2 separate regions of the Homo sapiens genome follow, and region 1 is linked to region 2. The links are contacts of gene promoters, found by promoter capture Hi-C in blood cells and fetal thymus (Javierre and others, 2016). All regions are on one chromosome and are shown on one strand. Each heading gives the region's core, a stretch centred on a gene start or on the middle of the fragment in contact. The rest is flanking DNA. Distances are from core to core; before and after follow the strand shown.

Evidence for each region. Contacts are between HindIII fragments. The CHiCAGO score rates a contact against its expected background, and 5 or more counts as called.
Region 1: a contact is called between a fragment that was not itself captured here and the fragment with the promoter of POLA1 in region 2, in 1 of 17 cell types (fetal thymus). The highest score is 5.7, in fetal thymus.

Annotation. Positions count from the first base shown.
Region 1 is chrX:23,668,103-23,671,641 of GRCh38, reverse strand. PRDX4 (peroxiredoxin 4) reads right to left here. Exons shown (of 7, transcript NM_006406.2): 2 at 1-113. Among named protein-coding and RNA genes, the nearest start is that of PRDX4, 2.4 kb to the right of the region's middle. The HindIII fragment of the contact is 2,021 bases long and covers 240-2,260 here.
Region 2 is chrX:24,692,618-24,698,827 of GRCh38, reverse strand. POLA1 (DNA polymerase alpha 1, catalytic subunit) reads right to left here and starts at 4,910. Exons shown (of 37, transcript NM_001330360.2): 1 at 4,824-4,910. The coding sequence starts at 4,866. RefSeq lists an enhancer at 4,649-4,738 and a silencer at 4,929-5,088. The HindIII fragment of the contact is 2,747 bases long and covers 3,324-6,070 here.

The sequences.
Region 1 (3,539 bases), core at 1-2,500, 1.0 Mb after region 2:
AAGTGGGTAGAAGAAGAAAACCAAGTATTTCCCACGATAATCAGTTAACTTCAGCTCCTTAAATTCTCCATCGATCACAGCTGTTCCTTCCCAGTAGGGCGCTGGCTTGGAAACTAAGAAAATAAAATACATGATGTTCTGTAACACTGAGAAAGTTGGTGGAATGGTAGAAGGACATCTTTAGAAAATCACTAAAAATCAGGGCTACCTTTAGATCTCTTTGGCAGTCTGGTGAAGCTTACAGACTTCTTAAAAGAGTGTTATTGAATGCAAAAAGGAAAATACATAGAATTACAAAAGAAACCAATTGTATTTAAATGCAATTATAAAAATATTAAAAAAAATTGGTGATATCATAATACATGTGCTCTATAACACTTCAAAACTGCAAGATCTAGTTGTAATCTGACAACTACGTAAGATAATGATGAGTGAAAATGGTGTTTCAGGATACCTGCGATAACCATATGTAGCAAGAAAATAAGTGATTCTATTGGTGAAAGGTACAAGCAAGTGCTGCTGAAGATAGTGTAGTTTGTTGCTGACATTCATAATAGAAGGAAACACTAAATTTCAGATGGGGATTAGTGAAAATAAATACTTTTTTCCCCTATTCATGCTCACAGACCCCTTAAATTCTACCCTGCACTAAACCCTCCTGGATACTTCACTATAGTCCCGCTTCAAGTTGTCAACTTCCTACATTTCAAATAATTAGATTTTCCTTTCTCTAATGGCAGTCTTCCAGATGTACTAGTTTGTCCAGCTTCTGACATACACATGGAGGACCTGCTGCAGATGAGGCTACACAAAATGAGGAGGGAATGTACAAATATGTCAGGCCAGAAGTGTAAAATCCCAGACCATGGGATCATTTTCCTAGAGGGCTTTGAAAGAAGACTCCCTTGAACAGGTTTCAAGTGACCCAATGGAAACTGAACAGTTCATGCTGCTCTCTTGTAAGGGCGTACAGTAATTTTAGCCAACACACTTAGATACTAATGCACCTTCATGCTCTGTTAACACATTCAGATAGCACTTATACTTTCAGACCCCTTACAAACACTGAAGTCAATGCTTGCTTCTAAGTTTGGCTAAGGGTCCTAGAAAGTAAGGCTTATACTTCTCTGTAACAGCCACCATTTATGGTCACTCCAAAATAGAGACAAACAACATGAATTTCTCTTAAAAATTAATATATAACATATGATTACTTATCTTGAGCCAGCATCCTACCTCATATATATAATCCTGATCTGATTAGGTAAAGGCCAGGAGGGAGAAATAGACAGCAGAAGAGTATTCAATTATATATACTTTAAATAAATTACTTAAAATGCTACTCAAGTGAGAGGTTATAATAATTGTAATGATCTATTACAATGACACGCCTTAATGATTTTAGCATACTGGGAAAACCATATTTGAAAAATAAATTTTGTTCTGAAAATTGATTTTGGAAATATTTGGTTAAGAATGGTAGTTACTTTGCTAAGATCTATAAATGGAATTCCCAAAGCAATCCCTTGCATTTATTAAAAAAACAAAAATTGTCTTGAATATAAATTATGTAATTAACATAAAGATTCTGGTAAATGCAGAGAAGTACAAAGAATACTTAAATCCTCTCTCTCCATAACTCCCATCAACTACTGTTAACATTCTGATGTCTGTCTTTCTAGTCTTATTTTTTTTAATTTTAGTTATTTACTTTTTTTTTTTTTGAGACAAGAGTCTCAGTCTGTCGCCCAGGCTGGAGTGCAGTGGTGTGATCTGGGCTCACTGCAACTTCCGCCTCCCGGGTTCAAGGGATTCTCTTGCCTCAGCCTGCCCAGTAGCTGGGATTACAGGTATGCGCCATCACACCCGGCTAATTTTTGTATTTTTAGTAGACACAGGGTTTCACCATGCTGGCCAGTCTGGTCTCGAACTCCCGACCTCAGGTGATCGGATGGCCTCGGCCTCCCAAAGTGCTGAAATTATAGACGTGAGCCACCACACCTGGCCTTTCCGTTCTTTTTTAAACACAAATTTGCCACGTGTTGCATCCCGCCTTTTTTTTCTCCTTAAAGGAAACAGTAAATTAATTATGAACAGTTTTTGATATTACTAAAAATTATTTGAAAATATGGCCTTAATGGCTCCATAATAGTCTTTACTAACAAAAGTCTTTGTATCTTTAATTATAGATAAGCCTACATGTGACAGAGAAATGTAGTAAACAACTAAAATGTTAAGTTTTGCTGGTAAAGGGAAAGCTTTGAAGTAGATTTGTTTCCTATGGAAAATATATGTAATGTAAGTAAACACTTAACTGGCTGACATATTTAAAATACTTTCCCAGGCAAGTAAAACCAGTGGGACTTGGAAATACTGATTTTAAAATTTAAGACTGGTTTTGTTAAAAATCTCAAAGTAGGCTGGGCACCGTGGCTCACGCCTGTAATCTCAGCACTTTGGGAGGCCAAGGCAGGCGGATCATGAGGTCAGGAGTTCCAGACCAGCCTGGCCAATATAGTGAAACCCCGTCTCTACTAAAAATACAAAAAATAGCCGGGTGTGGTGGTGCGCGCCTGTAGTCCCAGCTACCTGGGAGGCTGAGGCAGAAGAATCGCTTGAACCCGGGCGGCGGAGGTTGCAGTGAGCCGAGATCGCGCGACCGCACTCCAGCCTGGGTGCCTGGGTGACAGAGCAAGACTTCATCTCAAATAAAAAAAAAAAAAAAGTCCCAAAGTGGTTAACTGAAAGTACTTACTTTCAGCAAGTAAGAACTGTAAATGTTTAAGAGGACAAAACAGTTTTTCTCATTTATCACTCCCAACCAACCCATCCTAAGTCATAACAACATTCCATTTAACTCTAGGGATTCAGAATTTGAAGCATTACTTTTTTCACTGAATACTGGCATGGAACATGCTGTAACTGAACCATAAAAACCAACTACACACCTACAGAATGTCAAATGATCTGCAGGAAAAGCAGGTTACTGAATAGCAAGCAAGAGACAGCCTTTATCTATAGCCACTGTTCACTTTTGGTTAATTTTAACATCCAGATGTAGCAGGCTACAACTTTCACAGTATCTACTTCGTCTGACGTGTCATTCCTGAAAGTGGCCATTAGCTTTGTACACTGGACAGAAATGCAAATAATCAAAAACCAAATTGGCAGGACACAAATTTGCCACGAGGTTTATCATCAACCCAAATGCATACTTCTAACCTTTTCCCCCATTTCCCTCAAAAGTACACTCTGTAATAGGTTCTTCATGTCTGAGAAACATAAGGAATATCCATTAACTACACAGGCTTTGGGGAAGGTGGCTTTCAGTAATAATCTTTGTAAGATGCAAACAAAAAGGAAGAAAGAAAAATGAAATGTTTGACCTCCCGAGCACTGTGTTTAGCAACTTTTCTGTTTAATCAAACTTTTTGTGAATCATTATTCAACCTATCAATGTCTTCCTTCGCTGAAATAGTACCTGAAAAAGACAGGATGTGCTGAAGGCACTTTGAGATGTTTCAGGAACTGTTTCAGTT
Region 2 (6,210 bases), core at 3,661-6,160:
TACAAAATTAGCCAGGCATGATGGTGCATGCCTGTAACCCCAGCTACTTGGGAGGCTGAGGCAGGAGAAACACTTGAACCCGGGAGGCGGAGGCTGCAGCGAGCTGAGATCGCACCATTGCACTCCAGCCTGGGCAAAAAGAGAGAAACTCCATCTCAAAAAACAAAAAACAAAAACAAAAAACAACAACAACAAAAAAAGATAAAAAAGACATGGTCTCTGTACTCACAGAACTTACTATCTAACATGGGAGACAAGTAGCAACTGGCTCTAAACAATATTTAGAGATAATAAATGCCTTAAAAGAGATTCAGCCAAAGCACCCGGAAATTCAAAGAAGGAACAGATTGAGGGCTGGAGAAATTTAACAAAGATGGCTCTGAGGGGATTATTGGTATATCACTTATTTCAAGGCCTCAGTTGGTTATGACACAGGACATTACTAAAACAACTACAGGGACTTAAATGGTTTGTCAAAAATTACTGAAATATCAGAGGACTTCAGCGTTTATTCATTCAACTTTTGAATTATTCATGCTCCGATCATCATAAACTGACCGTTCCACACACACACTGAAAAAAATTCAAGCGGATGCAGTGGCTCACGCCTGTAATCCCAGCACTTTGGGAGGCTGAGGTGGGTGGATCACCTGAGGTCAGGAGTTTGAGACCAGCCTGACCAACATGGTGAAACCCCAACTCTACTAAAAATACAAAAATTAGCTGGGTGTGATGGCAGGCACCTGTAATCCCAACTGCTTAGGAGGCTGAGGCAGGAGAATCCCTTAAACCCAGGAGATGGAGGTTGCAGTGAGCCGAGATTGCACCACTGCACTCCAGCCTGGGTGACAGAGCGAGACTCTATCTCAAAAAAAAAAAAAAAAATTCATCCACAGAATTAAAGACTTTCACATACCCACTGATGAAAAACTAAGTCAAGCATAACAGTGCTGCCTGTCAACTACGAGTTTAGGCTCAGCATGATTGCCATCTATGTCTGTGAAATCTAGTATTTTACTGTGTTTGGTGCTAATTAATTTATAAAAAGGAGCAGGCAAAGAAAAGAAGTATGGATAAGAGGCAGCCTAAAACTCCAACCCCACTAGAATGTTCATAACAACATTAAGCTGCTTGACTAAGTGTTTGACTGAAATAGAAGATACAATTTAAAGAACATGTACCAAATGCTGGCAATAAACTGCTGGAAACTATAGCCTAAAGGTAAGGCATAATTAGAGATCTTATTTTTTTCTAGCTTTCTAGAAATGGAATCTCTCTTTATAATATCACACTCTATTGTTTGACTTTCACATTTGACTTTTAAATCCATTTTCAGAAAGACATTAAGTAAAAATTAAGGAATAAAGGTACTTAATGATGACAGCCACAAAAACTTGGATGTCACTCAAATGATTTCAAAAATCGTGAACAGGCCTACATGAAAAGGCTTTGAAGATTACTGAACATGACCCCTGAAAGTGAAAAGCGATTCCCCTCAAGACTCCCTTGATGCCTGACATCTGTAGGTCTTCAAATGCACTTACTCCATAGGCAACAATGTTCCACTACACAGGCAACAATGTTCCACTACACAGGCAACGTCCCACTACACAGGCAACAATGTTCCACTACACAGGGTTTAGGGTACAATCACAAATAAGACAGAGCTGCCTGTCCAAAAGAGGCCCCCAGTCAAGTAAAGCAAAGTACCTGAAATTACCATCACAATATAAACATGGTGCCATAGAAAAGGTAAGAACTCAGTACTGAGGAAATGTACAGAGGAGAGAGCTGTTAATTTTGCCTGGAAAATCAAGGAAGGCTTCACAGGAGAGGTTTCCAATACAGGCCTAGAAAAAGGAGTCAAATTTCACAGAGAACAAAGTAAAAAGTGGCACAAGCAAAAGAAGAGGCATGAGCCAAATTACAAAGGGATGAAAATGCATAGTGTATTCAGAAACTGAGAGAACTCAGTGTGCAAGGTAAATTCGACAAGGGAGTGTAGAGTGAGTAGGAGAACCAGGTTAGGGAGAAGCAGCACATTCCAGCTCTGCCATTTACTGGGTGACATGAGAACACCGGTTAACCAGTTAAGCAGCAGACAGGTGTCTTGTTATTTAAAGCAGCCTAGCATCTGAAACTGTTTGTGAAATCCGGCCCCCATCCCTTATAAGTCTTGATGAGACGCAGAGCCTATGCCCCATTACAGAAGCTGAAAAGGTTGATGCTCTTTCCCAGACACCCTTGCAGCCTAGAGCATGGGCATATAAAATAGGCGCTACCGATTAGGAACACCTGCTCAGACATTAAATCAGAAGCTAGTGTCACAAGGAAGGGGGCATGGGTTTTAAAAGATTCTACAAGTAGCAACAGCTGCAGAAGGATTACAAAACCGGCAACAATGTCAGCAATGTCCTAAGGTATGAGCTATAGCATCAAGTACTTGCTCGTGGTTGGCAATGACCTCCTCACTGGCCCATTTTTGTGGCACAATTTCACTCACTGTTCCTGGCTAAACAGCTCCCAGACTGGCTTACTAGTCCTCCTGGAGTTTCTGTGAACACAATATTCTTCTAACAAATTCTAACCAATCTGGTAGAGTTGGTTCCTGCAGCTTACAGATAGGGGCTCTGACTGATGCAGAGCCTCAGGGTCCACATCTGTGAAATGGGGATAATCATGTCTGCTTCAAAATCTGTTAAGGATTACATGAAGATGCCTATCTTACTTTGCACTTAGCAATATAGGAGCGGCTCATGTAACGCTTCCGCGTGTGAAGTCAAACACACATCCACATACCCCACACACACCATACCTAAGAGTACCAAGGTCTAGCTTTAGAAGGCAAAAACAAAGCAAAGCCGTTTTCTGCATATGATTAGATGTTTACCATCTGTACTTCATGAAGACAAACCATGTCCAGCCTACCCACCATCATAATGCCAGAGCCTGGCAGAAGGCTTATACCTAGTAGGTATATAATAAATATTTGCTGAATGAACCAATGAATGAACCACTGTACCTGCTTTTTTGATCATTAAACTTTCCCTGGCCGGGCGCAGTGGCTCATGCCTGTAATCTCATCACTTTGGGAGGAAGAGACAGGTGGATCACCTGACATCAGGAGTTCAAGACCAGCCTGGCCAACATGGTGAAACCCTGTCTCTACTGAAAATACAAAAAATTAGCCGGTGTGGTGGTGGGCACCTGTAATCCCAGCAACTCGGGAGGCTGAGGCAGAACTGCTTGAACCCAGGAGGCAGAGGTTGCAGCCAGCTGAGATCACGTCACTGCACTCCAGTCTGGGCAACAAGAGGGAAGCTTTGTCTCAAAAATAAATAAATAAATAAAAATTCCCTGATCTTTTTTCATATATAGTAACAGCTAGTTACAGACCTTTCAACTTTTCACTGCCATTATCAAGGTGCCCTGCCTGCTAATACTGAAGAAAAAAAAAAGCCTACATTTTGTTTTTTGGAGTATGTCTCCAATGCTTCACGTAGGTAACTTAGCAAAAAAAGAATAAGCATGAAAAAAATCCAGCTACAAAGGTTTAAATATTTGTTTCAAAATTACCATCTGGAGTATCTCTATCCTCCCCAAAAGCAGACAGACACTAGCTTACAGCAGTCTTTCAGGTAACAATCCTTCAGTCTGCTCTAAAGGAAAAATTCCAGTCACAAGTCCCCAGCAACTACTTAATGAACACCATGACCTAAGAGGAGTCTCAAGATTGCACAGTATCCTCCAAAGTGATTTCCTGATGTTCATAGATGACGTAGTTTTTAGGATGAAGAAAGGGCTTAGTGGCAAATCACTGATAGAGGCCTGCAAAGACTGTTCGTTCACATACTTACACCCAACATCCTATCTGTAATCCAGGCAGGTCGACTCTCCAAAATAGTCTTAAAAAACGAACGGCTAGAACAAATTGAAATCTGTGACTCACAACTAGGTGAATGCAAAGGAAGCTGATTAGGAAGCGAGTTCTCATTAATGGTGATGTATCTGAATGACAGGAGAGGTGACGCTTGAGCTAACAAAGTGAAGCATCTGATTTTAAGTTAGAAGTTAACTGAAGTCACGCTTTAGTTGAACACTTAAAAAATCAGACAAATCTATTTGCATTTTTGTATTCTATTTTTGGAAATAAAAGACACCCCTGACAAACGGAGTGATATACAGGGGATCCGAAATGCCCTAAATTGATGCCATTTTTTTGAAACTTCACCAGGAATGACTAGATTGTGAACAGGATTTCTACGCAGCACTTGAAGAACTTTCCAAAGAATCTGAAAGAAAAATTGTTAATGCATAAAGTAGAAACCCATTACCTAAAAATACAAAACGCGTTATTCCCCGATGACAGCACTTAGAGCTTTCTTTCCTGCTTAGTTACAATGTATAAAATTTTCCTGGAAGTTCCTACAAAAAGGGACACAGATCTGTTCTGTTCAAGCCTTCAAGTGGATACTTAGGGAGATCGCAGTGAAATACTTTCGGCCCCACGGGGCCAGTCTCAATAAAGTTATACCCAGCACGTGGGTGCAACTCACCAAAAGAAATAGAAACGCAATCGACTGTGGAGACTCTCAGTGGCAGAGGTGAGACAGCCTCCCAAACAAAAATCCCTCCAGGCTCTGGTCCTCCAAGAGCAAACCGCGCCTAAAGGAAGCCCGGTCCGACGCCAGAAGGGCCCCCGCCGGGGACGACCAAGGTCTGCGCCCAAACAAACCCGGGTGTGCGCCTCCCTCAGAACCCCCACCACCGGCAATCATGCCACTGTCCCAACCCGGAGCCCCGCGCGCGGAATTGTCCCTCACCACTCGCCCCTATCTCACAGTCGTCGCCGTGCACAGGTGCCATGGTCCCGAATCTCCCGATTCCGCGCCAACCAGCCCAAAACTGGCGCGGGGGCCGAGACAGGCGCCAGCCTGAAAGCCAATCAGCGGCTCGGGAGGCTGCGGACTTCCGGCCGGAAGGCCACTGACGTGCCGCGCCGCGCCGCGCTCCGCCCCCGGCCTTCCCGCGGACGCGCGTTTGGCGCCCTGTGATGACCCCTTAGGGAAAAGCTAGAGCTGAGGGGAAGCCGGAGGAGAGCAGGAGAAAGAAGCGGTCGGGCGCTGGAAAGGAGCCGCCTGGAGACTGCGCAAGCGCACGCATGCTGATGGGAAAAGATTTGGGCGCGTGGGAGAAAGGGCGCTCTGGTTCTCAGAGCCCATTTTCCCGGAAAGGAGGCGCGGGCGGGCAGGAGAGTGGGCGTGGTTGGATCGTTTTCCCCAGAGCCGGGAAAGCGACTGCCTCCTGCTGCGCGCCCTGAATTTTGCCTGATAGTTTGCTTCTCAGCAGTCTGGATACAGTGGCTGTGTGATTAACAACTTAAAGATATATGCTCCGTCTTAACCAAATAACCAGAAGTAGCATTACCAATAAATGGCCATCTGATCTCATATGCCTCCTGATGTAATGCGTATGAAAAAGGAAAAACTTCGCCTATATGGTCTTCTTGCAAAAAATGTCTAACCTGAATCTAACCATGAAGAAACAATCAGATGTATTCAAAATGTAGGACAATCTACAAAACACCTGACGTGAACTCCAAAATTTCAATGTTATGAAAAACAAAAAGGGTATTCAATTTTTGTGTATGATACAATGGCTGTAATGTGTACATCTCATGTTATCTCTTTCCAAAAAGGTATAACATTTTTATTAAATAATGCCTGCCACACATTTGTATTTTTTCCTACATTATTGCCCACATGCTTATTGATCCCTTCTTCATGTGACAACAATTTTGTAATATTTTCTCCAAAGAGGATATAAAGATAATTCAATCTGTCTTCTAGCATGGTTGATCAATACTTGTTTCTTAATTTCTGATTGTTTAGAAAATGTCTTTCAGCTTCATAATCATTTAATATCATGTTATGTGATCCATATGTTGTGATACATAACATGTAGTAATTTACACTTAGACATAACTTCCTATTTAAAGTACTACGACAGATTTATTCCTACACTTCCCTTTTAAAAACTGATGGAAGTTTTATAGTTTTATTATCAAGCTTTTTCCAACCAGGAGAGAACCATGTTGGCTAGTCATTAATAAGAACCAAATCCTTACCTTAACAATTTCACAGCTGATTACTTCCCACATGCCCGGGTATAACTCTAGGCATTTCAAACCTCTTTTCTCTTTCACTACTG